Linked DNA regions of Homo sapiens: all the other regions are linked to region 2. Evidence: promoter capture Hi-C in human tissues and cell types (Jung and others, 2019). All regions are on one chromosome and are shown on one strand. The core of a region is centred on a gene start or on the middle of the fragment in contact, and the rest is flanking DNA. Distances in the headings are between cores, read along the strand shown. Region 1 overlaps SLC5A1 (solute carrier family 5 member 1). Region 2 holds the start of RFPL2 (ret finger protein like 2). Region 3 has its middle 36 kb from the start of SLC5A4.

What was found. The method cuts DNA at HindIII sites, captures the fragments that hold promoters and counts their contacts. A contact is called where the count stands out against the background at its distance.
Region 1: a fragment that was not itself captured here is called in contact with the fragment with the promoter of RFPL2 in region 2 in 2 of the 25 tissues and cell types used here (IMR-90 fibroblasts and spleen).
Region 3: a fragment that was not itself captured here is called in contact with the fragment with the promoter of RFPL2 in region 2 in 9 of the 25 tissues and cell types used here (IMR-90 fibroblasts, aorta, bladder and 6 more).

What each region holds. Positions count from the first base shown.
Region 1 is chr22:32,076,561-32,079,541 of GRCh38, reverse strand. The region is part of intron 5 of SLC5A1 (solute carrier family 5 member 1); the gene reads right to left. Among named protein-coding and RNA genes, the nearest start is that of SLC5A1, 35 kb to the right of the region's middle. The HindIII fragment of the contact is 5,368 bases long and covers 1-2,981 here.
Region 2 is chr22:32,203,798-32,206,497 of GRCh38, reverse strand. RFPL2 (ret finger protein like 2) reads left to right here and starts at 1,425. Exons shown (of 5, transcript NM_001394555.1): 1 at 1,425-1,791. SLC5A4-AS1 (SLC5A4 antisense RNA 1) reads right to left here and starts at 1,383. Exons shown (of 4, transcript NR_149072.1): 1 at 1,251-1,383. The HindIII fragment of the contact is 14,140 bases long and covers 1-2,700 here.
Region 3 is chr22:32,289,892-32,292,598 of GRCh38, reverse strand. It overlaps a transcript of SLC5A4 not described here. Among named protein-coding and RNA genes, the nearest start is that of SLC5A4, 36 kb to the right of the region's middle. The HindIII fragment of the contact is 6,132 bases long and covers 1-2,707 here.

The DNA.
Region 1 (2,981 bases), core at 463-2,962, 130 kb after region 2:
CATTAATATGTGCCTTGCTGTCATTAGTCACAAAGAGGCAACACATAAGTTATAAGATAATGCTATAAATGACCTCTATAAAGACTTCTGAAAAGTGTTGGGCTAATAAAAGTCTTGTTTTTATGATATTCTATTTCCTTCTAACAGTACAGATAAAGGATTCTAAGGAAACCTCCCTGGTGAATTGAAGAAACCTAGGACAAATTCTTCCTCGCATGAGTCATTCTAACTTCAGAGATGAATTCTGCCTTGGCATGCCAAAGGCCAGGCTGGGAATACCTTAGCTAAGCTTATGTAGCTGACTCCAGCTGAGCAAGGCCACTCTAGTCTGGGTGCTCTGACATTAGTCTTTGGTCCTTCCTAGCTGCCAAACAAACCCACTAGGGTTGTTTTTTTTTGTTTGTTTGTTTGTTTGTTTTCTTTTCTTCATGTTCAGAGAGTTTTACAGTTTACCAAGGACATTTAGGCACATGCGTTATTTTGATCCTCAAAACAACATTGAAAAGTAAGGGACCTCCTTTCTGCTTTCTGGAATATTTTCTACAGAGAGCAAGGTCTTTTTTTTTTTTTTTTTTTTTTTTTTTTTTGGAGACAGAGTCTTGCTCTTTCGCCAGGCTGGAGTGCAGTGGCACAATCTCGGCTCACTGCAACCTCCATCTCCCAGGTTCAAGTGATTCCCCTGCCTCAGCCTCCTGAGTAGCTAGGACTACAGTTGCGTGCCACCATGCCTGGCTAATTTTTTTTGTATTTTAGTAGAGACAGGGTTTCACCCTGTTGGCCAGAATGGTCTCAATCTCCTGATCTTGTGATCCACCCACCTCAGCCTCCCAAACTACTGGGATTACAGGCCTGAGCCACCATGCTCAGCCAGCAAGGTCTTTTTTAGCAACAAAGAAAAAGTTTTTAATTTACTTTTAAAATAAAATCTCAAATAAAATAATGTATGTGTGGGGGGTTAAAATAAACACCACAGGCCAGGCACAGTGGCTTATGCCTGTAATCCCAGCACTTTGGGAGGCTGAGGCAAGCAGATCACTTGAGGTCAGGAGTTTGAGACACCAGCCTGGCCAACATGGTAAAACCCTGTCTCTACTAAAAATACAAAAATTAGCCAGGTGTGGTGGCGCATGCCTGTAATCTCAGCTAACTGGGAGGCCGAGGCAGGAGAATTGCTTGAACCTGGGAGGCAGAGGTTGCAGTGAGCCGAGATTGTGCCACTGTACTCCAGCCTGGGTGATAGAGTTTTGCTCAAAAAAAAAGAAAAACAAATAAAAATTGAATAAATAAATAACCGCAGAAGTTACACACTGAAAAGTAAAAGTAGCCCAGAAGTGACCACTGTCAAGAGATTTTTGTCCACCAGAGGATTTTTAAATGGCTTTCTAAAAATTATATGTCAACAGTTATGTTCTGCAGCCCCTAAAAATAATAATTATGAAAACTGAAACTGGAACATTTACAATTTGATGGTAGGGGTGGGGAGAAGACAACAAAATGATGCGCATATTCTAATTGCAACTTTGTGAAAGAATACACACAATTTGAGCAAGGCCAAAATATGAAAATATTGGTATTGGAGTTAAAGTGTGCATCTCCCACCCCAAGATTTTTAAATGCCAATGTTACATTTTTCCTACAGTTTCAAAAGTGCAGGAAGCAGAAATTTTAAAACAGAATATATTCTTTATGGCTATACGGGTACCCATATATATATGTAGTAAAAATATAAAAACATAGTCTAGAAGAATCCACACCAAGTTCAAGACAGCATTCACCTTTTAGGAAAGAGGAAAATGAGACCAAGAAAAGGGTATAAATAGGTCTTCGGCTATATCTGTAATGTTTTATTTCTTTTCTACAAATAATATATTGTTAAGATCTATAAAATCTGAGTGGTGAATATAAGGGTGTTTGCTATATTCTTTCTGCATTCCTGTATATTTGAAGTATTTCATTAAATTTTTTATCATAAAAATAGGGGACTGTATAGGGAATGCAGCACCAGCTTTGATATAAAAGAACTGTCCTGTCATCCTATGAGACCATTTGTTTCACAGCTTATCCCAGATTGCTCTTTCCCTAAATTAATGTTAGCCCTTAAAAGAGAGTAGGGGGAAGGATGGAGGGAGGGAAAGGAAAGGGAAGGGAGAGAAGGAAAGAGAGAACGAAAGGAAGGAAGAAGGGGAAAGGAAGAAAGTGAAAAAAGGGGGAGAGAGGAAGGGGGAGGGAAGGAAGGAAAGAAAGGGAAGGTAACAGAGGGAGAGAGAAAGAAAGGAGAGAAGGAGGGAGTGAAGGAAGGGAGGGAGGGAAGGAAGGAAGGAAAGAAGGAAGGAAAGAGGGAAAGGGGAGGCAGAAGGGAAAGAAGAAAATTTCTCCAATGCTGCTAAGCAAAACCAACTTGAAGTGAAATAAAAAATTATGGTCCTCTAGATCAAGAATTTGCAAACTTTCTCTGTAAAGGGCCCGGGAGTAAATGTTTTATGCTTTGCATTTACTGTCTCTGTCACACTCTGTTGTTAAAGCATAAAAGCAGCCACAGACAACACAAACAATGGGCTTGGCTGGGCTCCAGTAAAACTTTACTTACAAAAATAGATCGTGTGTTGGATTTAGCCCAGGGGTGTTGTTCCCATCACGTTGAAAATTTGGCTGAACGATGTCCATGGAATTCATGGGGAATAAAAATACAGACCCCCGTTGGAAAGCATCTGCAAGTAACTGAGTCTCTGATTGGGAGCTTGGGCATGTTGCTTCGCCTTGGCTCTGATGTTTTGAGATCCAGTGATTTTATATGTGTGTGTTTGCTGTCCATTCTGGTCGTAACCAAGATGTATTTGAGCATTCGATAAATCCTGCCTAGCCTCGCAGTTTCAGATGGTGAAGCCCCATTACTCAAATTTCTCTTTCCACTTGTGAAAGTGAGTGGCCCTGGGAATGAGCATTCAAATCTTAAGCAAAAGCAAAAGCTCTTCTTTTCACCC
Region 2 (2,700 bases), core at 176-2,675:
CCCAACCCGCCCCTGCCTCGGACACTGCAGCACCAATGGCACCCGCAACCCACCCCCTGCCTTGGGCAGCGCAGCCCGGGATAGCGCCCCCAACCCGCTCCCTGCCGTAGGCAGTGGCTGTAGACAGTGTAGCCATGGGTAGCGACCCCAACCAGACCCCTGCCGTGGGCAGTGATGCCCCGATATGGCACCCAAATCGCCCCCTACCCCGGGCAGTGCAACCCTGGATAGTGCCCCTACCTGCTCCCCACCAGGAGAAGCAGCCCAGGATAGCACCCTCAACCCACTTCCTGCCTCCAGGCAGTGCAGCCACAGATAGCACCCAAACTTACTCCCCACCTCGGGCAGTGCGGCCACAGACAGCTCACCTAAACCACCCCCTGCCAAGGGCAGTGTAGCCCCCTATAGTGCACCCAACCTGCCCCTGCTGCAGCCAGTGCAGCCCCAGATAGCACACCCACCCGCTCCCTGCTAGGCAGTACAGACCCCTGATAGCACCCAACCCACCCCTCCACCGCAGGCAGTGTACCCGGCCCTCAATAGCGCCCCCAACCAACGCCCCCACCCCCTCTCCATGGGCAGTCCAGCCCCGGTACCAATCCCAACAACCCCCCGCTACCTGTCTCAGTGTAGCCCCCAGAGAGCGCCCTCAACAACCCCCTCCCCACTGCCAGCAGTGTAGCACCCTATAGTGACCCTAACCCGTCCCCCACCACCAGCATTGCAGCCCCAAATAGTGCCCCCAACCCGCTCCCCACTGTGGGCAGTGCAGCCATGGATAGTGTCCCCAACCAGCTCCCAGATGCAGGCAATGATGCCCTGGATATCACGCCCGCCCCCGTCCCCCACAGGCAGAGTAGCACCGGATAGCAGCACCCACCCTCGCCACCAGCAGTGTTGCACCCACCAGCCCCCCACAACCTGTCCCCAACAAGGGCATCAGGGCATTGCAGCACCTGATAGTTCTACTAACTCACCCCCGCCCCCCGGCCGCGGGCAGTGCATCCCCAGATAGTGCCCCCAAAACTCCCCACTGCCGCAGGAATTACAGCTTCGGATAGCGCCCCAACCCATCTCCAGCCATAGGCTGGATAGCGCCCCCGGATAGCGCCCCCACCCCACTCCCCTCAGCGGGCAGTGACGCCCGAGGTACCACACTCAAGCAGCCCCCCAACACGGGCAGTGACGCCCTGGATAGGGCCCCCAACCCGCCCCCCACGCCACAGGCAGTACGGCCTGGGATAACGAACCTATTCTGCCACCTTTTCACCATTCTGGCTGCGCTGTAGTCACCCTCGCGGCCACCAACCGCAGCAGCGAGGTGAGCCACTGTAGGCTCCAGCCTCCAGCATGCGCGGTAGATGACTCTAGCCTCTGGCATGCGCGGCAAGTGGCTCCTCCTCCTTCTCCTCTAAGCCGGGCACAGAGCAGCTACGCAGGCCGACGCAGATGAGCCTGGAAGGGCAAGCCACCCCTCTTGGCATCCTTTATATACTGAGTTTAATGCAAATGAAGTTTCTCGACTACATAGTCTGATCGGATGAGAGAAACCTCTAGGCCTACTCTGATCGGGCTTTGTTATCTTGTTCTGATTGGTTATCCTAAGACTTGCTGTCATCCAGTCAGAACGTGAAAATAAAGCACAATCAGAGTAGACCTAGAGGTTTTTCTCTCATCCAATCTGAACATGTAGTCCAGAAACCTTACTTGCATAACCTCGGTCTGTGGGGGGAGGGGTTCTTGCCATTCCAGGCACTTCTGCGTCTGCCAGCCCATCTGCTCCATGCCCAGGTTAGAGGAGGAGTCACCTGTCCCACGCTGGAGGCTTGAAAGCCTGCAGCAGCATGGCTCGGCTCGCTGCCGTTGGTGGCGGTGAGGGAGACTAGACCGCAGCCAGAATGTAGAAAGGTGGCGGGGTGGATGAGCTATCCAGGGCTCACTGCCTGCGGCAGGGGGCGGGGAGGGGGACAGGTTGGATGCACGATCTGGAGCTGCACTGCCCGAGGTGGGAGCGGGGGCGGATTGAGGGCGCCATCGTGGGCTACAACCCGGTGGTGGGAGGCGTGTTAGGGGCAGTATTGGGTGCTGCACTGCCTACAGCACGGGAAGGTTGGGTGCTTTACCGGACGTCATTTCCCGCAGCCGCGGGGTGGCTTGCTGGGGGCGCTATCCGTGGCTGCACTGGTCGCGCTGGGGTACGGGTTGGGGGCGCTATCTGGGACATCAGTGCGCATGGCAGGGAACTTGTTGGCTGTGATATCCGAGGCGTCACTGCCCTTGGCTGGGGGCTGGTTGGGGGCTCTATCTATGGGCTACACTGCCTACAGCCAGGAGCGTGTTGGGGCGTTATCGGGGCGGACTGCCAGTGGCGGGGGTGGGGGTGCGGGTTGGGTGCTATCGGGGGGCTTCACTGCCTGGCAGGGAGTGGATTGGGTGCGCTATTTGGGGTTGGACTGCCGGCGGTGGTTGACTCGGTGGGAGGAGAGGGGCAGAGGGAATGGGTTGGATGCACTATCGGGAGCTACACTGCCCGAGGCGAGGGGGAGATGGGGGCGCCATCGTTGGCTACACCGCATGTAGTGGGGGGCGTGTAAGGAGCAGTAGTGCGTGTTGCATTGCTCATGGCGGGGGAGGGTTGGGTGCGTTATCCCGGGCGTCATTTCCCACAGCGGCGGGGGTCAGTGGAGGGGCTTGTTGAGG
Region 3 (2,707 bases), core at 76-2,575, 86 kb before region 2:
TTCTACCATATTTCTCACAGTCCTGAAGTCTGGGAAGTCCAAGATCAAGGCACTGGCAGATGTGGGGTCTGGGGAAGACTCACTCTCTGCCTCTAAGATAGCACCCTGTTGCTGTGTTCTCTGGGGATGAATGCTGTTTTCCAAACATATGGGGATTTTCTAGCATATACACACACACACATACACTAGAAAAAAACAAATATATATCTAGTATGTACATATTAGAAAATATGTGTGTACAGATTAGAAAATTCCTATAGTTCCATATACCATATATATTAGAAAAATATATATAATATCTAGTATATATTATATATAATATCTAGTATGTATTATATATAATATCTAGTATATATTATATATATAATATATAGAATATAATATATATATTATATAATATCTAGTATGTATTATATATAATATCTAGTATATATTATATATATAATATATAGAATATAATATATAATATCTAGTATATGTATTATATATTATATATAATATCTAGTATATATGTTATATATATATACTAAAACCCCGTCTCTACTAAAAATATAAAAAAATAGCCGGGCGTAGTGGTGCACACCTGTAATCTCAGCTTCTCAGGAGACTGAGGCACGAGAATCACTTGAACCCGGGAGGCAAAGGTTGCAGTGAGCCAAGATTGTGCCATTGCACTCCAGCCTGAGTGACAGAATGAGACTCCATCTCCAAAAAAAAAAAGATAGAAAAGAAAAATAAATTATATATATACATACATATATATACACACACACATATATATAAAATATAAAAATTTCCATACATTGGGAAAACAAGAAATATAAATAGGCTAAGGTCAAGGAATAAATCATAATGAAAAGTAGAATACATTTGAGTATAAGGGAATTGTTACATATTAAAACTTAGGTGATTCAGATAAATAAGTGCTTAAAAGAAAATTCAAGCTTAAGAGCCTATCTTGGTAAAGAAATCAAAGAACATCTAAATTAATGAAGAGACGTACCATGTTCATGAGTTGGAAGACAACACAGTAAATGTGTCAATTTTCCCCAAGTTGATACACAAGTTTGACTGAAAACTAATGTCAGCCATACTTCTCACAAATTAAAAATAGAACAGTTGACCCCGGCGCAGTGCCTCACGCCTGTAATCCCAGCACTTTGGGAGGCCAAGGTGGGTGGATCACGAGGTCAGGAGTTCAAGACCAGCCTGACCAATACGGTGAAACCCCGTCTCTACTATAAAAATACAAAAAATTGGCCAGGCATGGTGGCGCACGCCTGTAATCCCAGCTACTCGGGAGGCTGAGGCAAGAGAATCGCTTGAACCCGGGAGGCGGAGGGTGGCAGCCTGGGTAACAGAGAAAGACTCCATCTCAAAAAAAAAAAAAAAGAACAGTCAAACACAAAGTATATAAAAAGAGAACAATGAAGATAAATACACAACTAAAGAAAAAGAAAATAAACATAACACAGAGAGGATCAGCAAAGCCAAATGCTAGCTCTTTAAAAAAATAAAATTGATAAATCCCTGGCAAAACTCATATGATGAAAATGAAAGAAGACAAATTCCAATATCAGAAATTAAAAAGAAGACACCACTACACATCCAGCAAGCATAAAAAAGAGGCTGAAATGGTTCAAATGTATGTTTTCCCCCAAAATTAATATTTTGAAACCTAAGACCCAATGTGATAGTATTAAGAGTTGGGGCCCTTAGGAAGCGATTAAGTCCTGAGGATGGAACCCTCATGAATGGGATTAGTGACATTATAAAAGGGCTGGAGGGGACTTTCTGGGCCTTTTTGCCTTTCCATCTCTTCTATCATGTGAAGACACAGCATTCATCCTCAGAGGACACAGCAACAAGCTGCGATCTTGGAGGCAGAGAGCGAGTCTTCTGCACACCCCACATCTGCCAGTTCCCTGATCTTGGACTTCCCAGTATTCAGAACTGTGAGAAATAAATTTCTATTGTTTGTAAGTTACCGAGTCTGAGGTATTTTGTCACAGCAACCCAAAAGGACTAAAAAGGAAATTGTTATGAAAAAATCATATCCAAAGCATTTGAAAATATAAAATAAAAAGTACAAGTTTTCAAAGCTGATATTAGAAAAATAGAAATTTAAAGAGTCCTGTAGTAATAAAATCAATTGAATCCATAACCAAATCTTTCCCACTAAGAAAACCCCAGGGACAAGGATGAAGCTGGAAACCATCGTTCTCAGCAAACAAACTAACACAGGAAGAGAAAACACCACATGTCCTCATAAATGGGAGTTGAACAGTGAGAACACATGGACACAGGGAGGGGAACATCACACACCGGGGCCTGTCAGGGGATGGGGGCAAGGGGAGGGAGAGCATTAGGACAAACACCTAATGCATGCAGGGCTTAAAACCTAGATGACGGGTTGATAGGTGCAGCAAACCACCACGGCACATGTGTACTTATGTCACAAACCTGCACATTCTGTACATGCATCCCAGAACTTAAAGTAAAATAAAAGTAAAAAGAAAAAAAGAAAAACCCAGGCCCTACAAATTCAACCAAACATTTAAGGAAGAGATCATGCCAATCATAAGCTCTTCTAGAAACCACGCCAATCATACACAAGCTCTTCCAGAGAATAGAAAAGCAATAGAAAATGAATATTAAAGAGCATAAAATGGCCTCAATTCATTTTTGAGACTAGAATTACCCTGAT